Regions from separate parts of the Homo sapiens genome. Here regions 1, 2 and 4 are each linked to region 3. Evidence: promoter capture Hi-C in 16 types of primary human blood cells and fetal thymus (Javierre and others, 2016). All regions are on one chromosome and are shown on one strand. The core of a region is centred on a gene start or on the middle of the fragment in contact, and the rest is flanking DNA. Distances in the headings are between cores, read along the strand shown. Region 1 overlaps DUS2 (dihydrouridine synthase 2). Region 2 overlaps GFOD2 (Gfo/Idh/MocA-like oxidoreductase domain containing 2). Region 3 holds the start of THAP11 (THAP domain containing 11). Region 4 overlaps DUS2 (dihydrouridine synthase 2).

The links. Contacts are between HindIII fragments. The CHiCAGO score rates a contact against its expected background, and 5 or more counts as called.
Region 1: a fragment that was not itself captured here is called in contact with the fragment with the promoter of THAP11 in region 3 in 1 of 17 cell types (naive B cells); the score reaches 5.5 in naive B cells.
Region 2: a contact is called between a fragment that was not itself captured here and the fragment with the promoter of THAP11 in region 3, in 4 of 17 cell types (erythroblasts, endothelial precursors, neutrophils and 1 more). The highest score is 6.0, in erythroblasts.
Region 4: a fragment that was not itself captured here is called in contact with the fragment with the promoter of THAP11 in region 3 in 3 of 17 cell types (total B cells, neutrophils and naive CD4 T cells); the score reaches 5.8 in total B cells.

Annotation. Positions count from the first base shown.
Region 1 is chr16:68,051,377-68,054,076 of GRCh38, reverse strand. It overlaps DUS2 (dihydrouridine synthase 2), which reads right to left. Exons shown (of 17, transcript NM_017803.5): 5 at 422-513. Among named protein-coding and RNA genes, the nearest start is that of DUS2, 29 kb to the right of the region's middle. The HindIII fragment of the contact is 1,675 bases long and covers 609-2,283 here.
Region 2 is chr16:67,680,308-67,683,007 of GRCh38, reverse strand. The region is part of intron 2 of GFOD2 (Gfo/Idh/MocA-like oxidoreductase domain containing 2); the gene reads left to right. Among named protein-coding and RNA genes, the nearest start is that of C16orf86, 15 kb to the right of the region's middle. The HindIII fragment of the contact is 1,643 bases long and covers 460-2,102 here.
Region 3 is chr16:67,840,964-67,843,731 of GRCh38, reverse strand. THAP11 (THAP domain containing 11) reads right to left here and starts at 1,412. Exons shown (of 1, transcript NM_020457.3): 1 at 1-1,412. The coding sequence starts at 1,177. The coding sequence ends at 233. The region is part of intron 1 of CENPT (centromere protein T); the gene reads left to right. RefSeq lists enhancers at 89-138, 579-738, 450-1,196, 1,649-1,698 and a silencer at 1,219-1,398. The HindIII fragment of the contact is 11,152 bases long and covers 1-2,249 here.
Region 4 is chr16:68,072,413-68,075,184 of GRCh38, reverse strand. DUS2 (dihydrouridine synthase 2) reads right to left here. Exons shown (of 17, transcript NM_017803.5): 13 at 1,030-1,151. Among named protein-coding and RNA genes, the nearest start is that of NFATC3, 12 kb to the left of the region's middle. The HindIII fragment of the contact is 1,112 bases long and covers 864-1,975 here.

The sequences.
Region 1 (2,700 bases), core at 197-2,696, 210 kb before region 3:
GAAGGGCACTATAGAGTCATCACAACTCAAATACAAATCTTAACTACTCTTGAAAAATCCTAATATTTTTCTATGAGAAATATATACACACTACATAAAAACAAAGACTATGATCTGAGTAATCAATGCTAGGGATAAAAAAATAGAGAAATCATGCCAAACAGACAATTCCTACAAGTAAGTAAATTAAATTTGAGACTAGAGACATATAAGACTGTGATAGCTTGATTTCCATAAACTGTCTCCAATAGTATAATTACTCATGACTGGCTCTTTGGAAAACATTAAAGCAGAATCTTCAGGAAGCCATCGTTGTACAATGTACCCCAGGTATTCAACACTGGCCTGGCACAGGGCATGAGTTGGGAAATCCCAGGGGATGGTGAGCCTCAGGAGGGCATGCAGCAATGGAGTCTCTCACCATCTGGAAGACCACCCTGTTCTGCTCTCTTTCACAGGTGCGGAAGACAACTCGATCATCAGGGGCGACAAAGTCCACTGTGCTGAGCACCTCTGCAAGAAAACCCAAACACATAGGGTCACTCAATGAAGATGCAAGTTCAACGCTAGCCTAAGCCCTGGAAGAAAACACAGCCAGAGTATAAGCTTCAAGGGGAAAGAGATCCTAAATGTATACCATTCTTACCAAAAATAACTATGCACATGGGAGGCTTCTGTGATGATGAGGATGGTCTATTTCCTGACCTGGGTGATGGTTGTTCATTTTGCAATTACTTGTGAAACTGCATGTTTGTGTTTAATGCACTTTTTCTGAATGGTGGTTAACATTTTGCAACGTTTAAAATGTTAAAACCGGGCCGGGTATGGTGGCTTACGCCTGTAATCCCAGCACCTTGGGAGGCCGAGGCGGGCGGATCATGAGGTCAAGAGTTCAAGACCAGCCTGGCCAACATGGTGAAACACCGTCTCTGATAAGAATACAAAAATTAGCCAGGCGTGGTGGGGTATGCCTGTAACCCTAGCTACTCGAGAGGCTGAGGCAGGAGAATCGCTTGAATCTGGGAGGCGGAGGTTGCAGCGAGCCGAGATCGCGCCATTGCACTCCAGCCTGGGCGACAGAGCAAGACTCCGTCTCGAAAAAAAAAAAAATGTTGAAACAAAATGTACATACATAGCCGGGCGCAGTGGCTCACGCTTGTAATCCTAGGACTTTGGAAGGCCAAGGCAGGTGGATCATGTGAGGTTAGGAGTTTGAAACCAGCCTACACAACATGGCAAAACCGCATCTCTACTAAAAATACAAAAATTAGCTGGGCGTGGTGGAGGGTGCCTGTAATACCAGCTACTCAAGAGGCTGAGGCAGCACAATCTCTTGAACCTGGGAGGCAGAGATTGCAGTGAGCTGAGATCGCGCCACTGCACTCCAGCCTGGGCAACAGAGGGAGGCTCTGTCTCAAAAAAAAAAAAAAAGTCCATACATGGAAGTTTGTCTATGTTTCAGATTTGGCCCAAATTTTCCCAGAAAACATCACTCTGAAGTTCAGCAAATTTACTATTTACTTACAGTGAGACAGGTGCTATGAGTGGAAGGTTACTATATAACAATCAATCTCCTATACTATTCATAGTTGCATATTTGCAAATGTGCCTATTTGCTAACATTTATTTGTGACCCCAAAATCAATACTTGTGATGTTTTCATGGTCATCCAAGGACAGGAACAGAGTGGTGAAAGTTTTGAGTTGCCTGATGTGCATGTTCCCAGCTGAGGTCAAACAAGGTGATGCTCTGTCTTCTCCCTTCAGCTCTCATACTGTCAACAAGTGTCCCTTTTGTGGTATATTTCATGCCACATTTCTGCATGTCTATGCTTTTTGTTGGTGATCTCACTGTTTAAAATGGTCCCAAGTGGCTGGGTGCGGTGGCTCACACCTGTAATCCCAGCACTTTGGGAGGCCGAGGCGGGTGGGTTACCTGAGGTTAGGGAGTTCGAGACCACCCTGGGCAACATGGTGAAACTCAAGTCTCTACTAAAATACAAAAAAAAAAATTAGCTGGGTGTGGTGGCACACACCTGTAGTCCCCACTACTTGGAAGGCTGAGGCACAAGAATCTCTTGAGCCGGGAAGGCGGAGGTTGCAGTGAGCCAAGATCACGCCACTGCACTCTAGCTTGGGCTACAGAGTAAGATTCCATCTCAAAAAATATAAAATAAATAAAATAAAATGGTCCCAACCATACTGCTGAAATGCTATCTAATGTTCCTAAGCACAAGAAAACGGTCATGGGACTTACAGAGAAAATACACATCTTGAATAAGCTTTGTTTCGGCATGAAATTATAGCACTATTACCCATGTTAGTGGGTTCAATGTTAAGTGAATCAATGGTATATATTAAATAATATGCCTTTAAACAGAAACACATGGCCAGTGTGATGGCTAAGTCCTGTAATCCCAGTATTTTGGGAGGCTGAGGCAGGGGGATCACTTGAGGCCAGGAGTTTGAGACCAGCTGGGGAACATAGCAAGACCCCCATCTCTACAAAAAATTTAAAAATTGGCTGGGCATGGAGGTGTGCACCTGAAATCCCAGCTACTTGGAAGGCTGAGGCAGGATGATCATTTGAGCCCAGGAGTTTGAGGCTGCAGCGAGCTATGGTCACACCAGTACACTCCAGCCTGAGCAACAGAGTGAGACCTGGTCACAAAAAAGAAACCAAACAAAAACAAAGAAACAC
Region 2 (2,700 bases), core at 32-2,531, 160 kb after region 3:
GTGACAGAGTAAGACTGTCTCAAAAGCAAACAAACAAAAAGAAATCTAAATTCTCAGGCCCCACTCCAAACCTACTGAATCTCTGGGATCCAGCTATCTGTGTCTGAACAAGCCTTGCAGGTGACTCTGGTGGACATGAAGGATTGAGAGCCACTGATCCAATCATTTTGAATTAAACTGAGGCCCAGGAGCATTAAGGAATGACATCTTGGTTACATTTCACCAAGTCTTCGTGCTGTGATTTTTCTCTCCTTGCTAGAGCTTTATATTTTTACCTTACTTCTAAGGCCACGAGATCATTTCTTGCCCTCATTATTAGTTTTTCCTAAAATTAATGATTGGACTTAACCTTCCAGAGATAATACTTTTCATATCACAGCTCTTTTTATGGCATCTTGTTTTCTGCTTTGGTCTGACCTATGTTCTTCATCTTCTACCTCCGATTTCATCCTTAAAGCTTTCCCATGAATTTCTTAAAGGGGAGAGGGGAAGGGCCCTAATATATTTTATTCTTCAGTTCAGAAGTGGTTCAGGAAATTATATTTTAAGTGCAAGGTGCCCCTAGCATCTTTGCCACAGTTGAATGTTTTCTTAAGTCTGTCACTAAAAGGTGGGCTTCTGTGCCCAATTCTTGGCACTTCTGTGGTTCATTAGAAAAACACTAAGTTTGCAGGCCAGGCTTGGTGGCTCATGCATGTAATCCCAGCACTTTGGGAGGCCGAGGCGGGCGGATCACAAGGTCAGGAGTTTGAGACCAGCCTGACCAACCTGGTGAAACCTCGTCTATACTAAAAACACAAAAATTAGCTGGGCGTGTTGGCACGTGCCTATAGTCCCAGCTACTCAGGAGGCTGAGGCAGGAGAATTGCTTGAACCCAGGAGATGGAGGTTGCAGTGAGCCGAGATCACGCCACTGCACTCCAGTCTGGGTGACAGAGCGAGACTCCATCTCAAAAAAAAAAGAAAAGAAAAGTAAAAAGAAAACATTTTTGTAGAGACAGGATCTTGCTGTGTTGTTCAAGCTGGTTTCGAACTCCTAACCTCAGGCAATCATCCTACTTTGGCCCCCCAAAGTGCTGGAATTATAGGTGGGAGCCACTGTGCCCAGCAGATTTCAGCTTCTCCAATCTCTCCCTTGACTTCCTGGCAGGAGAGCTAGATAAACTCAGGTAGACATGTCTTTCATGGCTACCCAAAGACTCTGTACAGCTAGCCCTCAGGAGCCTGTTTAAGTCAAGATGTCCTTGCAGTCCCACACTGATACTACTGAGCCCTAAGTTTAAGAGTGCTGTTATTCAGGGTTGGGCTCAGTGCCTCACACCTCTAATCCAGCACTTTGGGAGGCCAAGGTGGGCAGATCGCTTGAACTCAGGAGTTAAATACCAGCCTGAGCAACATGATGAAATCCCATCTCTACCAAAAATACAAAAAATTAGCTGGGCACAGTGGCGTGCACCTGTGGTCCCAGCTACTTGGGAGGCTGAGGTGGGAGGTTAGCTTGAGCCCAGGAAGCGGAGGTTGCAATGAGCCAAGATTATACCACTGGGTAACAAAGCGAGTCCCCATCTAAAAAAACAAAAACAGACTATTTTTCAGATTCAAGAAGAGAGGTCTTTCCCTCTTTCCTCACCTCTTGAGGCATGAAACAGGAATTCCTTATCCTAGTTTTATCACCACCAAACTCCTAGCAGTCATAAAAGTCCTTTTTCCTCTAAACCCACCTCCTCTCTGCCTCACACTGCAGTATCCACTCTGTCGCCAGCAGCGAGGCATTATAGCAGGAGGCTTCTGAATTGGCCAGAACAGCAGCTCTCAGGTGGGGTGTCTGAGAACCTCATTTCCTCATTACATCCCTCCCTGGTCAGCCATATGTGTTCAGCAGCCAAATGGCAAAATTCACCCCCAGAACTGTGATTGTCTTCCCTAATCTGGAAGGCCCACAAGTGTGGAGAAGCACTGGAGACCCTCCAGAAGCAGTAGTGCTAGCAGTCAGGGGCTACTCTCCCTGCCGGGCCCCGTGCAAGGGCCTGGCCACCCTATCCCAGGTATGTGACACTTGGCTGGCTGTTCTTTATTGTCCTGCTAGTACCTGTTGTAAAGCTTCTTTTATTAAAGAAGAGCAGGAGATTGAAGTGTCATAAATTGAAGAGATTCACACCAACACGGCACATGTATACATATGTAACAAACCTGCACGTTGTGCACATGTACCCTAGAACTTAAAGTATAATAACAAAATATGTATTAAAAAAATAAATAAATAAATTGAAGAGATTGAATGATGTCATAGACTACCAATCCACATGCCTTGTTCCTTGCTGCAGCACTGAGGTTTGTAATCCTGGGAGTTTAGACCTACGTAAGATGCCCATAAGTACAAATGACAGATGCTCTGTGGGGTTCTTCAGGGTCAAGGTGGCAGAGGTGGGGGTAGGAAGTGAGAGGAGGGGGAAGGGTTGACCAGAGGCACCAATTTGTCTCCTGTGGGCTTGGTCAGTATGTGAGCTACCAGGGGGCCAGGCTGGGCCTGACTCTCGGAGAGGCCTAATAAACAGTACGTATGATAAAACAACTCCTCTGTATTCGTTTTGATTTTATTTATTTTTTGAGACAGAGTCTTGCTGTGTCATCCACGCTGGAGTACAGTGGCTTGATCATAGCTCACCGCAGCCTCTAACTCCTGGACTCAAGTGATTCTTC
Region 3 (2,768 bases), core at 163-2,662:
GGAAGGGTAGACAAAGTCATAATTGCTGGTGTCACCAGGGCAGAGTCTAAGGCCCCAGCTTCCACTTCAGGAGGAAACAATTGAGGATGCCAGGTCACCAGCAAGAGAGTCCAGCTGCCTTAAGCCTCAGTACTGTCAACCAGTGCCCAGGAGTATAGAGGAGTTCAACAATGGCCTGCGGTCCCCTGGCTGGATGGGGTCTGGGAGTCCAGCAGGCTGCCGGGGCACCAGTTCACATTCCGTGCTTCTTGCGGATGACAGCCATGGCAAGCAGCCGATCCTTCTCACGCAGTTCTTCGCGCAGCTTGGCCTCAGTGAGACGCAGGTGGCGAATGCTGCCTTTCATCTCTTTCATCTTCACTTCCATCAGAGCCAGGATGTCCCGCTGCTCATTCAGCTTGCGCAGGAGCTCCTCCTCCGTGGTGCCTGACGACAAGGAGTACGAATGGTCGGAGCCAGTATCAGGGAAGCCCTCTTCCCCTACCACCACCAACTGGGGGCCCATAGGGCACTCGGCAGCCTCCAGCCCTGCGGTAGCAGCCTGTAACTCCGACGCGGCGGCCGCAGCGGCTGCGCCCTCTGCGGCTGCAAACTCCACTTGCACTGTGAGATCGATGGGCTTCACGTCTTCTCCAGTGGGAGTGATGGGCGCCGGCTGTACGGATCCCGGAGCCTGACTGCTGTCTACAGTGGCCTGAAGGGTGAGAAGCACGGCCGCGGAAGCAGATACCAGGTTCGGCTGCAGCTGGGCAGTCTGGGCAGTGGAGGCAGAGGGTGAGGACTGCTGCTGCTGCTGCTGCTGCTGCTGCTGTTGCTGCTGCTGCTGCTGTTGCTGCTGTTGCTGCTGCTGCTGCTGTTGCTGCTGCTGCCTGCGGCGGGCGGCCGCGGCCCCAGCGGGTCTGCGCGCTACTTTGCGCTCATTGACGCCGCGCAGCGGGAAGATGGTGGGGACGCGTACCGTGTAGGTCTTGCGGCCGCCCTGGAAGTGAACGCTGCAGAGACGGTGGCCTGTGGTGGGCTGGAAGGTGGAGAAGCACCCACTGACGCCGGCACGCGACACGTTCTTGAGCCAGAGGCGCCGCAACTCAGCGTCCTTTGGAAACGTGTAGAAGTGCAGCGCCTTGTCCCGGTGCGAGTTGTTGTAGCAGCCTGGCACGCAGCACGTAAAGCCAGGCATGGCTGCGCCGCGCGGCCCGGCCCGGCCCACCGGCCTCCTGCGCTCTTCGACGGCCCAGTGGCTACGCCGCCGCCCGCCCCTCGACGGGCGGCGCCGCGCGAGGCCTTGGGTGGTATCCCACCACTGCCGCTCGGCGCAGCCGGCCCGCCCGGCGCCCCGTGCCCAGAATACGCTTCCTGCCGGCCCGCGCCGCGCCGCCCGCCTGGCTGCCCGCCTGCGCTCGGGAGTGGGCCCCGGGGACGCCGCGAAGGACCGCCTGAGAAAGAGACTACGCCCCCCACAATGCCCCGCGCCAGAAGCGGCTCACTTCCGGGGCGGGTGTGTGCGGATTCCTGCCGCCTTCCAAGGCACTGCGATAGCCTCCGAAGAGCAGATTCTTTCCCCAGCCCGTCTTGTCCCCGGCGGGCGAGAGAGGCGTATTAGGTTGGAACGCTGTCGCCTGGACTGCTCCTCACGAGGACCCGAATCCTGATAGGGGCGTGGAGCGGGGCGGTGCGCGCCTCACCGGTGCGCAAGCGCGGTGGGTATATGCCCACGGAGACTACAAATCCCGTGATGCCTCGCGCTGAACTAGGCGCCTTCCCTCCGAAGCGCCGCCTAAGGGAAAGATCGAGTTACTGCGGACCAGGATTCGGGCGAGGTTGTGCTGTTTGCCAGAACCAGTTCCCCAGCCCCGAGCCCCTTTGAGTCGACGGCATTGCTGCAGCAGAGGGAGACGAAACCTGGGCCTCGGCGCCCCGAAGGGTCTCAGGAGCCCCTTTCTTTGCGTTGGGGACTCTCTCCTGATTCAGCTGCTGCCTGCGTTGACTAACTGATCTAAACAAAGTCTCCAGTAGACGCCTACTATGTGGCTGACACGGTGCCGGGAGTTTGCGGGAGTCAGACCGACTGGGCTCCTCTCTTGGAGCCTGACTACCTAGACGGATAAGCGTCTGTCTTTTGGATAATAGATCTGAATGCACGCGAATGGATGTCTACTCACAAATAGTAATCGCTCCAAAGGAATTAACAGGAGAGCAGAGAAATGGGGGGGAGGTGGTGGGGGCCAGGAATAAAAAAACGAACGAAAGCTTGGGTAGGGAGAAGTAGCCAATTCTTGTCCCAGGAACCAGTCTGTAAGGCCACATGGCAGAAAAGAGCTAGGCTCCGCCATTAAAGAGCCTGGAAAGGGGTGGCCCGGGTAGGGCCAAGCGTAGGAAAATACCAAACTGGGACATGTTAAGGATTTGGGGTTTTATTCTGCAGGCCACTGAGAGCTATTAAAGGATTTTATGGGAAAGGATTTGCATTGTAACAATACACCTCCCCCCACCTCAACTTATTTGAGGGAATCTTTTTTTTTTTTTTTTTTTTTTTTTTTTGTAAAGGAGTCTCACTGTGTCGCCAGACTGGAGTGCAATGGTGAGATCTCGGCTCACCGCAACCTCCGCCTCCTGGGTTCAAGCAATTCTCCTGCCTCAGCCTCCGGAGTAGCTGGGACTACAGGCGCATGCCACCATGCCCGGCTAATATATATATATATATATATATATATATATATATATGTATTTTGTATTTAGTAGAGACGGGGTTTCGCCATGTTTCTCAGGCT
Region 4 (2,772 bases), core at 170-2,669, 230 kb before region 3:
ACTGGAAGATGGAAAGTGAATGTGAACCCAAGCGTGGACACTGGAGGGAGGCTGGGCTGGGTGGCAAAGGTTGTAAAGGTCACCCCCACCACCTGCAGCCTCTCTCCTGAGGGGAAGCACACAGATGGTATCCCCAGCCAGCCGTGACTGAGTTAACCAATGCTGATCAAGCACATGGGCCCATGGGAGGAAGAGACAGAGGCCTGACCACTAAGTGGTTCCCCACTTCCCGCCCAGCCACAGGCAGTTATACATGGGTCTCAGCTGACACTGAGGCACCACCCAGAGCTACAGAGTTATGTGGGGTAGGGACTGAACCAATGCCATAAGCCAAGGGTGGGAAGAGGGCTCTGGCAAAGGTTTTTCCCTTCTAGGAAACATCTTGAAGGCTGGAAGACTCAAACGAAGATAGATCCCCAATGGCAAAAGTGGTTCAGAAAGGCATCTATGTAAGAGGGAGGCTACAGATAGCTCACGTGAGAGGGAGAGAGCCTTCCAGGCAGACGACCCATTACAAGCACAGGTGTGGAGTTCTGGAAGCAGACAGGTAGACAGGGAGCTGTGGGGGCAGTGGCTAGGCCAGCTTGTGAAGGGCCTCAACTGTCAACCATCTGAGCTAGAGCTGCACCTGATCTAGAGAATCAACAGGTGGTCTCTCAAACTGCAGGGTGATGGATGTGAGTGCAGGCTCAAGGTAGAGGCTCCATGCTACAGCCCAATTCTCCTGACCACTGGTTCCTGGGGGCCTGGCCTGTGACTATCCCATTTATGGAAAATCCCCTTCCTTTGCATTCCTCTATCCTTCTAGTACCCTAGTTCCCAGAGCTCTGCTGATCCGTCCAGGGATGGGACGTTTCAAAGCTTTCAAAGAATCCCCTCCTGGGAGGCAAAGCTGTACCATCACTCCACTCCTCTACATCTACATCCAGAAGCTGTGTCCCTGGTCCCCTGGTGGAGTCAGCTTAGGGCTCAAAGTCAAACTTGGGCAATGCGTACAAGGACAGATGGACATCTTATTGTGCCTCTTACCAAATTTCCCGGGAAGACTGGGCAGCATGGAGCAACCTTCCCTGGGGCGACTCCAGCTGTTCTCGTAGCATCTGGCACAAGCAGTACTTGGTGTTGGTGTAGTGGTTGTCATACTGCACCGCCTGAGAAAAGAAATGACTTGCCTGATGCCCAGGCAGGCTCTAAGGCCTGGGCTATGCTCTGATGGCAGGGAAAGGAGCTCCAAGAAGGCACCAGAGATGTATGTGTAGCCAAGGCAATGTGACCCCCATAAGAAGAACCACCACTGGCCAGGAGCAGTGGCTCACATCTGTAATCCCAGCACTCTGAGAGGCCAATGCAGGAGGACTGCTTGAGGCTAGGAGTTCAAGAGCAGCCTGGGCAACGTAAGACTCAACTCTACAAAAATTAAAAAAAAGAAAATTATCGGCTGGGCACGGTGGCTCACGCCTGTAATCACAGCACCTTGGGAGGCCAAGGCGGGCGGATCACCTGAGGTCAGGAGTTCAAGACCAGCCTGACCAACATGGTGAAGCCCCGTCTCTACTAAAAATACAAAATTAGCTGGGCGTGGTGGCGGGTGCCTGTAATCCCAGCTACTCGGGAGGCTGAGGCAAGAGAATCGCTTGAACCCTGGAGGCGAAGGTTGCGGTGAGCCAAGATCGTGCCACTGCACTCCAGCCTGGGCGACAACAGCAAAACTCTGTCTCAAAAAAAAAAAAAAAAAGAAAAAGAAAATTAGCCAGGCATGTTGGCACACACCTGTAGCCATAGCTACTAGGGAGGCTAAGGCAAGAGGATTGCTTGCACCCAGGAGTTGTGGCTGTAGTGAGCTATGATCATGCCACTGCACTCCAGCCTGGGCAACAGACTGAGACCCTATCTAAAATTAAAAATAAAAATAAAAATAAATTAAAAAGCCACTTCGACCTTGGTCATCTACTCTTCCAGCTAGTGGTACAAAGCTTGAGGGTCACAGCCAAGGACCACGGTCAGAAACACATTCTCCTGGACAGCCTGACTGAGGTCTCGAAGTGCGGGAGCCCCTTCCTGCTTCAGCCACCACAGAGGACCTACTGCCAAGTATCTTCCAGGGAAGGGAGGGGAAACACACCAAATTCTGGCATGGCAGGTCCAGTGCCAGGAAAGGGGTGAGATTCTTCTATTCCTTCTAACCAGAATGGGCACCTTCCCTTCCCACATCTTGAATAGCCTCTAACTTCCCCCTACGTGGGTAAAACACAGCATCATTTAGTTCACATGGGTTACTCATGACTACATTTATCTATACAAGTGTGAGGTGCAACTGTCACCATCACTCCACAGACCGTGAAATGAAGGCTCAGGGAGGCAAGATGACTGACTGCCTGGGACACCCAGTGGAAGTCGGCTGGCTAGAGGTAGGGCAGGAGAGCAGTATTGGGTGAAGGTGGCCTTCCCCAGCCCTCCAGGACACCCTCCCATCCCCCACCCCCTATGCTGCTCTAGTAACTCCACGTGGGCCTATGACTTCAGTGGCTGGGAAAGTGCCACGGCACGCTCAGGACAAAGTGGGAAGTAAGTCGGGGCGCCCCGGCTGGTGGCAAGTCCTTGACTCAGCTTGTCTGGGAAGAAGGCACCTGGCTGGACCAGAAGCAGCCCTGCCTATGCTTGAAAGCCGCTCCCTTTCTCTGTGATAGCACACCCTCTTGAGGAGCTGCCAAGAGATGGCTCAGCAGGAATGATAATATCACCTTTCACCCAGTGAGCAAGCTCAGCACTGTT